Linked DNA regions of Homo sapiens: all the other regions are linked to region 2. Evidence: promoter capture Hi-C in human tissues and cell types (Jung and others, 2019). All regions are on one chromosome and are shown on one strand. Each heading gives the region's core, a stretch centred on a gene start or on the middle of the fragment in contact. The rest is flanking DNA. Distances are from core to core; before and after follow the strand shown.

Region 1 (3,090 bases), core at 10-2,509, 1.0 Mb after region 2:
CATAATCTTAATATGAACAAAGCAAATAAAATCACTTGCATTTCTATTTATACCACTCGGCTAAAATATAGTTTGAAACTTTATTCAGATTTAAGTTTTTGGTAATATAATATTTAAAAATTTTTATGGGTTTGTGTCTGTATTTATCTATCTTATCTCTGTGACAAGAAACATTTTAAACTTTAGATCAGTCTATTATCTATGTTAAATAAGTTTTTTTAAAGTATTTTATGCCTTACACTAAAATATTAAGTAGTAAGTTCACAGGAAAGAAGGTCAACCAAATAGCTAAGAAACCAAATAGCTAAGTTAGTCAACCAAACAGCTAAGAAAATGTTTGTCATCTATATTTTTAGAATTACTATTTCACTATATTAAATATATTTTCATTACAATAATTTTCATGGAATTTCAGCTAGGCACTCATTTCTCCCATTCTATAAAAAATTAATTCTTGTGTTGACTGACAACCTAGAAGCATTATTGAAATTCCATTAGCAAAGGGAATGACCAACAATAAGGTCCTGGAATAAAATCCATCTGCTAACTCAGACCCAATGCTCATCTCATCACAACTCCACTGTGCTAGGTGTAGAAGTGGAACTAGTGTGCTAGCATAGAAGTTAGAAGTAACGAGGAAAAAAAAACAACACAAATATATGATGATATGTTTGCCTCTGGGGAATGATGCCATAGAATCATTAACCCGTGAGCTCCTACCAGAGCTCTGAACAAATAATTGGGACGACTTAAGTTTTTAGAAGGGCAAGTTGTGGTTGTGAGCAGAAAGAAAAAATAGTGTATATACAGTGAGAAAAATATACACAAATGGTCTTAAGCGAATCATGTATCTTCAGAGAAATACTTATCTTTACATATAATGTCAACATAAAGGATGTAGTTAATAGAGTACTTTACCTCACCTTGACTCTCAAGAGTTCATTATTTCCGTCTTATATATAGTTCTATTACTGCAGTTATCATAGTTCATTGTCATTATTTTTATACATCTTTCTCCCCTATCTCCTCCCTAAAGATTCACATCTTACTCAAATTTATTTCTAGGGCATCCAGAAAATGATACAAAACAAATAATTAATATTTTTGAATTGGCCATACAAGCAAATATCAGAAACCACAGCATTATTTTTCTAAAGCTTAAACATATATTACAATCAGTACTAAAAAGTTTAACTCAACTAAAAAGTTTATAATTAGTGGAAAATACTATGAATACTATTAGTTCTTTTCTTTACCTTGCTAACATTTAAAAATACACTTCCATTTTATAATAGTAGGAGAATGTGTTTATATTCCTATGTCAGTGATTTTATTATTATCATGACAACACTTTGTACTCTAGAAAGGACTAGGAAACCACCACAGTTAGCTGTCTTGCCCTGAGCACAGAATTTAGATTACAGACAGTTCAAAATTACAGACAGTTCAAAATTTCAACATCAATGAAAGGAATGCCAAGCATGTTGAGACTGAAATACTTTTTGAAATTTCACTAACTCACTGTCATTAACTTTCTGGGATGTGAGTGCTTATTAAAAGGTTTGCTTATTAAAACTGGCAAACTAATAAACCTGTTCTATTACAGATATCAACTGGAATAGTATATATGCCCAGCATTTACATTTTCACTAACACAAATAGGTGGCAGTATTGGCCAATAAGCAATTTTCCATATTTATTCATTCAGTAAGCATTTGTTTAGCACCTACTTTGTGTTGGGCACAGAATATTATATACATCAATTGAAACTTTGTTCTTTCTCCATTGGAAATACAGTCAATTAACACAAGAGCATAGTGTAACGTAATATACACAAACATCTGACTGTTAGAACTCATACTGAAATTAGTTCTAAAAAATTTTTGAGAACATGTAAAATAAAACAAGATGAGCCAGCTTTAGTTCAAAACTACCATCTAAGTAAACAAATACTGTGACACTAGTGCCTTAGAAAAAAATCCCAAACACTAAACACTGTAATAGATAATCTTACTTTACTTAAACTTATTTTTTGGGGGGAAGGGGATGTTTATAATATATATAATCCAAACCTTTGTAAATCAAGCTGCAAATCAAAATGTTATAGCTGACTGCTTTTAAATAAATTTTAATATAATTACAGAAGTAGTAGTTTTTTCTTTTTTTTTTTTAAAGACATAGTCATACTCTGTTGCCCATGCTAGAGTGCAGTGGCGCAATCTCGGCTCATTGCAACCTCCACTTCCTGGGTTCAAGAGGTTCTCATGACTCAGCCTCCCAAGTAGCTGGGATTACAGTCGTGTGCCACCACACCCCACTAATTTTTCTATTTTTAGTAGAGATGGGGTTTCACCATGTTGGCCAGGCTAGTCTCGAACTCCTGGCCTCAAGTAATCCGCCCGCCTCAGCCTCCCAAGGTGCTGGGATTACAGGGGTAAGCCACCGTGCCTGGCCAGAAGTTTTAATTCTTGAAGTTTAAGCTATTTAAAACTCTCCTTACAAAGACACAGCCTCTGATTAGTGTGACACACTAATCAACTGCAGTATTAGTTCCAACAGTGTAAGTTTTTTCATTCCTTCAGATTGGGCCAAATTAGTCATCTGATGGACACATGCACAAATGTATTTATCTACAAATATATAAATATACACACATACATAATTCATACCCAATAGTGCAAGTTAAGAGTTCTATTTATGCCAGCCACAGAATAAAATAATATGGGGGTTTTATTCGCTCCTCTAAAATTTATATTGTTACAGAGCTGTCAGACTAATACTAAGTCAACATCCTCTACTTTTTCACAGACAGCCGGCATCAGTGCAATAATTTGACAACAAAGTTAGCAAGTCACCCTGGAGTTTACTGATTTATCCAGAAAGCAATGAATCTTTCATGCTTAAAATCCAAAATAAACTACCAATAAGCATTTGGAATTCATAAGTTTCCTCTCAAAATTTTATTGTGAATTTCTTATAGTAATACCTTCAGTAAAGTAAGACAGATATCATGGAAAAAAAGTATAAAATGTAAGTTTGACTTCAAGAAAAATGAAACCACAAATATGACCCAGGAAAGAATTTAACATG
Region 2 (3,096 bases), core at 569-3,068:
CATATTGCAACTAAATGATAAACACACATCTGGATCACATCTAGTCTGAACTCCAAAACAGGTCTTCACTGTACAGTCTCTTGTGAGAATGAAGCTTTCTGCTGAAGGTAACAGGAATCTAAGGTGGCCTACCCTGTTTAAATCCATAGGTCAGGCATGGCGGTATATCTTTGTAAAGTTTTTTCATTGTACTCTTGCAAGAAATATTCACTTATATCCAGCAACTATTCATTATTTCACAAGGTTTGGGTTTACACTGAACAAAATTACCAATTATGTTCAAAACTGGTGTTCATATAGACAGCCAAATGCCTTATTTTGATGAAAAGTTGTAATAATGAGCATGGAGAATTATTTTTATGTTCCAAGATTCTACCAAAGGCATTAAATTGACTATTTCTTCAAGATGTTCTTCTCAAGTTTTCCTTTCATCCTACTTTCTACCCTCCATTTGTTCCGCACAGATACAATATCTTCTCTATTTTTCCAACTTTCTCTTAGTGGTTAAGGGAGTCACACAGAAAAGCTTCTCCACTTCATGGAATATTCGCTATATTCCACTTTATAATGAGGCTCTCAGTGAATCGTTCTCCTCCGACTCTCTCACTTCCCTATCTCCCTTTTGTTGCCAGTCCCCCTAGGTTTGTTCTTCCCTCTTGTTTTCAGATAACTCGGATTACCCAGTTGGAACCAAAGGCCAAAGAATGTCCTCTCTATTATGTTTGATTGAAAAGCCGCCCGGAAGAGGGAAGGGGTGTGGATCTACACTTATTCACTCTTTCACTAATGTGCCAAACTATTTGATCCGTGCCGCTTTTGTGTACCCAAAACACAGTATCATAAAAGTAATTACAGGCCCGAAAATGATTCTCAGCCCAAATGAATGGCCTTTTGGAATGCTATATTCTGGACTTCTCTTTGCGTGGGGGAGGGTCTCACAACTAACGAAAACAAGTCCTACAGAAAACTGGTGAGCTCGGCGGCTGGGGGAGGGAGGGAGGGGGGTCACAGGTCCGAAGTGCAAGGGACGCCGAAACAGGACTTGCCTCAGTTATGAGCACGTGCTCTGACCTGGCTGCGGCGGCGCAGGCAAACCCCTCGGAAGGTGTCGTTGTCCACCGAGACGGCCATTGACCTCTGACTCATCCAGAGATAAGTCATCAACCAGGCCACAAGTCCCAAGCCAGCAGCTCCTGGATTTAGTGTGCACGGAAAATTTGAGTTTCAGCTGTACGACCACTAGCAGTTAAAGACGGGTCTGAATTTCCTCGGGCTCGGCCGGAAAGTGAGGATGGCGATGGAAATGCCACCCTCCCCGAGTCTGGCCTCTGAGAGTTAAAGAAGCCGGTCCCATCCCGGCGCGTGAAGGAGCTGCCGCTGTGTGGGGCAGGACCCGAGCGGCCCCAGAGCGCGCAGCTCTGGGTCCCCGCCGCCCCGTCCCCCGCGCCTCTCACCTGCGGCCGAGTGGCCCGAGAGCGCACGGCCCCGGGCGCGGCGCTGGCCACCAAGTTCGCGGCGCTCGCGTAGCTCTTCCTCCTCGTCCTCCCGCCGCCGGCCCTCAGCCATGGGCGAGGCGCGGGGCGCAGCCGCGGGATGGCCAGCGAGCTGCGGCCCCGGCGCCCCAGAACGCCTGCACCCGGCGCCCCACGCCACCGCCCTCGGGCCGGGGGGAAGGCGGCTCCCGGAGAGGAGGCGTCGGCGGCGGCTGTGGAAATGGCCACCTCCGCGAACTCCACCTGCAGCCGGCCGGGCAGCGGCAGGGCGCGGGCCGAGCCGATTCCCCGCCTCCTTGCGGCGTCCCGGCGGCCTCTTAATCCCTGGCCTTTCCCACTCCCACTCCCGCTCTCTTCCCCCTTCCTCTTTGCCTTCCCCGCCCCGTAGAGCTCCACCGCGGATCGGGCGGGTTCGGGGCTGGCCTCGCCTCCTCAGGGAGGGGTTATCGGCCCCTAAGGCCGCCCCACAGCCACACACGCTGGAAACACCAGCTCGACCCAAACAAACGTGTGCAAAATAAATAAACGGGATAGGAAGAGGGGAAAGAGGAGGTGGCCTGGCCTCTTCCTGCCTTTTCACGATATTCCAGTGTCAACAGGAAACCCATTTGTTTGACACTTAAACAAAAAGAGGAGGAACCCGACCGGGGCCGAACTGGGAGAGATGGGACAGCTGGGAGCTGCTGAACTTTGGAACAAACTTGGCTTGGAGTTGGGTCGAGCCTCTGCAATGCACACTTTTTTCTTTCCCTCTCTTTTCGCCCTTAAAAACCTAGACTTGCGGGAGCACAGAGGATTTTTAGGGCAGTGAAACTACTATGCGTATGATTCTGTAATAGCGGATGCCTTTGTCCAAGCCCAAAGAATGTACAAAACCAAGAGTGAACCGCAATGTAAACTATAGACTTTGGGTGATTATGAGGTGTCAATGTGGGTTCATCAATTGTAGCAACTGTGGCACTCTGGTGGGGGATGTTGATAATGGGGGAGGCTATGCATGTGTGGGAGCAGGGGGTACATGGGAAATCTCTGTACCTTTAGCTCAATTTTGCTGTGAACCTAAAACTGTTCTTAAAAATAGTCTAGTAAGACTGGAAGCGGTGGCTCATGCCTGTAATCCCAGCCCTTTGGGAGGTCGAGGCGGGCAGATCACGAGGTCAGGATATCGAGACCATCCTGGCTAACACGGTGAAACCCCGTCTTTACTAAAAATACAAAAAAAAAAAAAAATAGCCAGGCGTGGTGGCGGGCGCCTGTAGTCCCAGCTACTCGGGAGGCTGAGGCAAGAGACTGGCCTGAACCCAGGAGGCAGAGCTTGCAGTGAACGGAGATCGCACCACTGCACTCCAGCCTGGGCAACAGAGCGAGAGTCCTTCTCGAAAAAAAAAAAAAGTCTAATAAAAATGTTTAATAATAAATCAAGCCTCACTGTATTCCAGTTCATTTAGGGCTAGGATATGGCTACAATTCCTAGAAGAACAGGAAGAAATGTGTTAAAGAGACCCATACGTGATTATTTGTAGAGAGGCAACTAGGGGAAGTGGAGAGACCACTGGCTCTGGAGTCAGAAACTGTAATTTGAAGCACTTAGCTGTGTGAGCTA
Region 3 (3,302 bases), core at 616-3,115, 1.0 Mb after region 2:
ACACACTTCTATCAGAAAGGCTCATCTTTATGCCAAGCAGCTTCAAACTAGATGCAGAAACAACTTAAAATGAAAACAAAGCACCTAAAATGAACAATATGTTAATTTTCAAATCATCTGGCCCCACCTAGCTATATATCATGGATGACTGAGAGAATTGCTATGAGTTTTACTTCCCACTAGGAAGCTGAGACTAATGACATAGCTTATGATAAACGGAATGCTTATCAGCACCTAAGGCATGAAAAGGGCTAGAGATAACTTTCGTGATGTTCAAAAGTAAGTTCCATTAAAAACTGTGTGTAAAATAAAATTTCATTTATAAGAACCTAATGCTAATTAGGAAATGTGCCAAAAGATAATTGTATCTGGAATCAGAAGAGGTGGCATTTTGAAATCAAAAGCAAACTACATACTACCTCTTCTCCAGCTTCCCAGCTACACCAAAAGTCAATAACAGTCTATCATTTCTAAACAATAATGTGGCTACCTCTTTTCTCAATCAAACAGTTTATTTAAATTAGAATATTATATTCATTAAGCTTCTGAACATATCAGAAACAGGTGCAGCCAATTCCCCTTCCTCCAAATTCATCACCTTTTCTAATTTAGCAAACATTTTTATCATATTGTCAATATTTCATGACATGGACAATATCCCTTTGACAAAGAAACAAATATCCTAAGAACAGAATTGACAGTACTAAGATTATGTACTAATTTGCTGAACATTAATGGGTAATAACTGGTAAATAAACTATATAAGCTATAGGAAATATTTTTACATTAAAAATGTTGCCTTTCTGGAAATAAAACAAGATTCATATTCTAAACTTCCTATTCATCTAGTTAATGATCTCAAAATATGGCAATGTTTTCAAGGATATGGGCTTGAAATATAAACCAAAAAAAAGAAATCGGTTTAGTCAACTTTACTTCTTTATGACTACAAATCAGTGGGCCTGGGACAGTAGAGTGCTTTATGCAGAAAGGATCTATTTCCACTTTGAATGGGGATGGAATCACAATTACATGGTCCATCAACTTTCAGCTATCAAAGCAAAGGGGCAGCTTTTGGCCATATTAATCTTCTGCAAAGGAGTTTCTTAAAATCCAGGTTACTCTCCTATGAGACTATTTAACCATTAATTAACATAGCAAAACTTAGAGCCCCAAAGTGTCAGGTTGCAAAACAAATATTTGTATTTAGAGGAGAAATAGATCACAGAAAATTGAAAGCATTTAAATAATTTTGAAATTTACACTTTCTTCATGCCAATTTTAACGTATATAAAAACAGCAGAATAATCTGATTAATCTTTTTTGGACTGTACTGGATCAGCAATTTGACAGTGATTATCTGAGTAAAACAACCTTATGATTCATCAGGAGAGCATTTAAGGGAGAGATAAGAGATCTTACCTGTAATGAATAGACTCTATTAGTATGCCCCTGCAACGTGTGTAGACAGGTTTCAGTCTCTGGATCCCACACCTTTACCATAAAATCATATGCTCCACTAACAACCCTCCTGCCATCATATTGAACACAGCGGACTGCTGCAACATGACCCATCAAAACATGTAAACACTGGCCTGTCTCAATATCCCAAACCCTAAGAGTGGCATCTCGAGAACCGCTAACAACTCTGCAGAGGGAGAAACAGAAAAACAAAACAAAACAAAAAAACCCACGTTTAGAATTTTTAATAATATGAGAAAACATGGTAGATTTAGTCAAGGTTTTTTAGCTTTTTTTTTTTTTTTTTTACACAGCAACAACCATTTTCAAAAGAAATCCTATGTAAAACCTTGGTATATAAACATAATAAGGGAATGGGAAGTTGGGAAGCCTAGAATGCTGCATGCTTGGTTCCCTGACCTGGGGACCTTAGGTTCAGCACCTTAAGGTTCTGTGGGACTGAGTTTGAAAACCACTGTACTGTATTTTTTAAAAAGCAGCAGAAGCTGCCTCTAAATATATACAATAAGATTTTGATTTTAGAAATAAAATGTTAATGTGGGCATATGTATAAAATGTTAATGGGAGAACTCTAGGTGGTAGTGGTTTAAAGAATTTAAATTTTCTTTATGTTCTTTGCCATTTTCCAAAATTTCAATTATGAATGCATATATTCCCTTGTGATTAGGTAAAAAATTCAATAAAGTTTATACAACAAAACAAGTCAGAATTTGGAATTTAAACAGCTGCAGATTTGTGTTTACACTATACATTCCAGTAAAAATTAACCAGTTTTAGACATGTCCTCAAACACAGGCTGCTTATGCTTTTAATGATTAGATTTATAAATATGCAATAGGCTATAAAAATATTAAGAGATAAAGATTTTAAAAGATATGTACATCTTTAAAAACAATGGCTATCCCTTAAACATTTGGTTCAACATCAGCGCTATACTCTTCTGAAAACCAGAGCAATATACAAATACTGTAATCACTTTTGGATTACAAAACAAAGCTGAAAACTCAGGTATCCTTATGTCATTCTGAAGAGATAAAGAAATACCACAGTTTCCATATTTTAAAAAAGTAGATAATTAAAGGGTTGAGAGAACCCTTTAATTGAGAACCTAATGTTGAGAGAACATAATGGAAACTGGAATACAAGGTCTCTTGATACTCATCCCCCAAATTTTAACAGTATAGCACACTGTTCAAAGTAGAGGTAAATGACAATTGAAAAGGTACTCCTTTTCACATATTACAAATCTGGTGTGAAATCTGCTTAATGTAATTGTTCTTAATAAAGAAGATGCGATAGACAGAATTAAAGGTAAAGACTGCCATGGATTCACTGTAAGGACCTTTCAGAGAGACCTTTTTTGACAAATGAGGTAGAAATCACACTTGTTTAACAGGGGTATGATGACGATAATAGAAAGATAGGATTTTAATAGGAGGGCTTTACAGGAGGAGATAAAAGCAACAGCAAAGGCACTGAGAAGAGAAAGTCAAAAAGTCCAGTTTGGCAGAAACCATTTTGAAAACTGGATCGAGGATTTCTTCCTTAATTCGTTAGTCAACAGTAGGCTCAAAAAGACTTAAGAACTGGGCAGTGACACTATCATAATTATAAAAGGACTATATGTCAGCTGTATAAAACATAAGATAACCAAGTTAGAAAGCTGTGACAATAGTTCAGAATGAGAGAACAAATTACCCACAGGCCTCAGCTTTTGCCTAGACTTAGAGATAGGGTGGGTGTAAGGTGGGTAGGTAATTTAAAAAGGCTCAGACGCTTGAAGCCTGAATTTGTCCCACTTGCGGAAATAAGAATATCAA

The links. Contacts are between HindIII fragments. The study calls those that stand out against the background at their distance.
Region 1: a fragment that was not itself captured here is called in contact with the fragment with the promoter of SH3D19 in region 2 in 1 of the 25 tissues and cell types used here (dorsolateral prefrontal cortex).
Region 3: a contact is called between a fragment that was not itself captured here and the fragment with the promoter of SH3D19 in region 2, in 1 of the 25 tissues and cell types used here (dorsolateral prefrontal cortex).

What each region holds. Positions count from the first base shown.
Region 1 is chr4:152,355,167-152,358,256 of GRCh38, forward strand. The region is part of intron 4 of FBXW7 (F-box and WD repeat domain containing 7); the gene reads right to left. Among named protein-coding and RNA genes, the nearest start is that of FBXW7-AS1, 19 kb to the left of the region's middle. The HindIII fragment of the contact is 5,495 bases long and covers 1-3,090 here.
Region 2 is chr4:151,323,787-151,326,882 of GRCh38, forward strand. SH3D19 (SH3 domain containing 19) reads right to left here and starts at 1,819. Exons shown (of 20, transcript NM_001378122.1): 1 at 1,455-1,819. The coding sequence starts at 1,566. The HindIII fragment of the contact is 31,894 bases long and covers 311-3,096 here.
Region 3 is chr4:152,324,584-152,327,885 of GRCh38, forward strand. It overlaps FBXW7 (F-box and WD repeat domain containing 7), which reads right to left. Exons shown (of 14, transcript NM_001349798.2): 12 at 1,423-1,648. Among named protein-coding and RNA genes, the nearest start is that of FBXW7-AS1, 11 kb to the right of the region's middle. The HindIII fragment of the contact is 8,165 bases long and covers 1-3,302 here.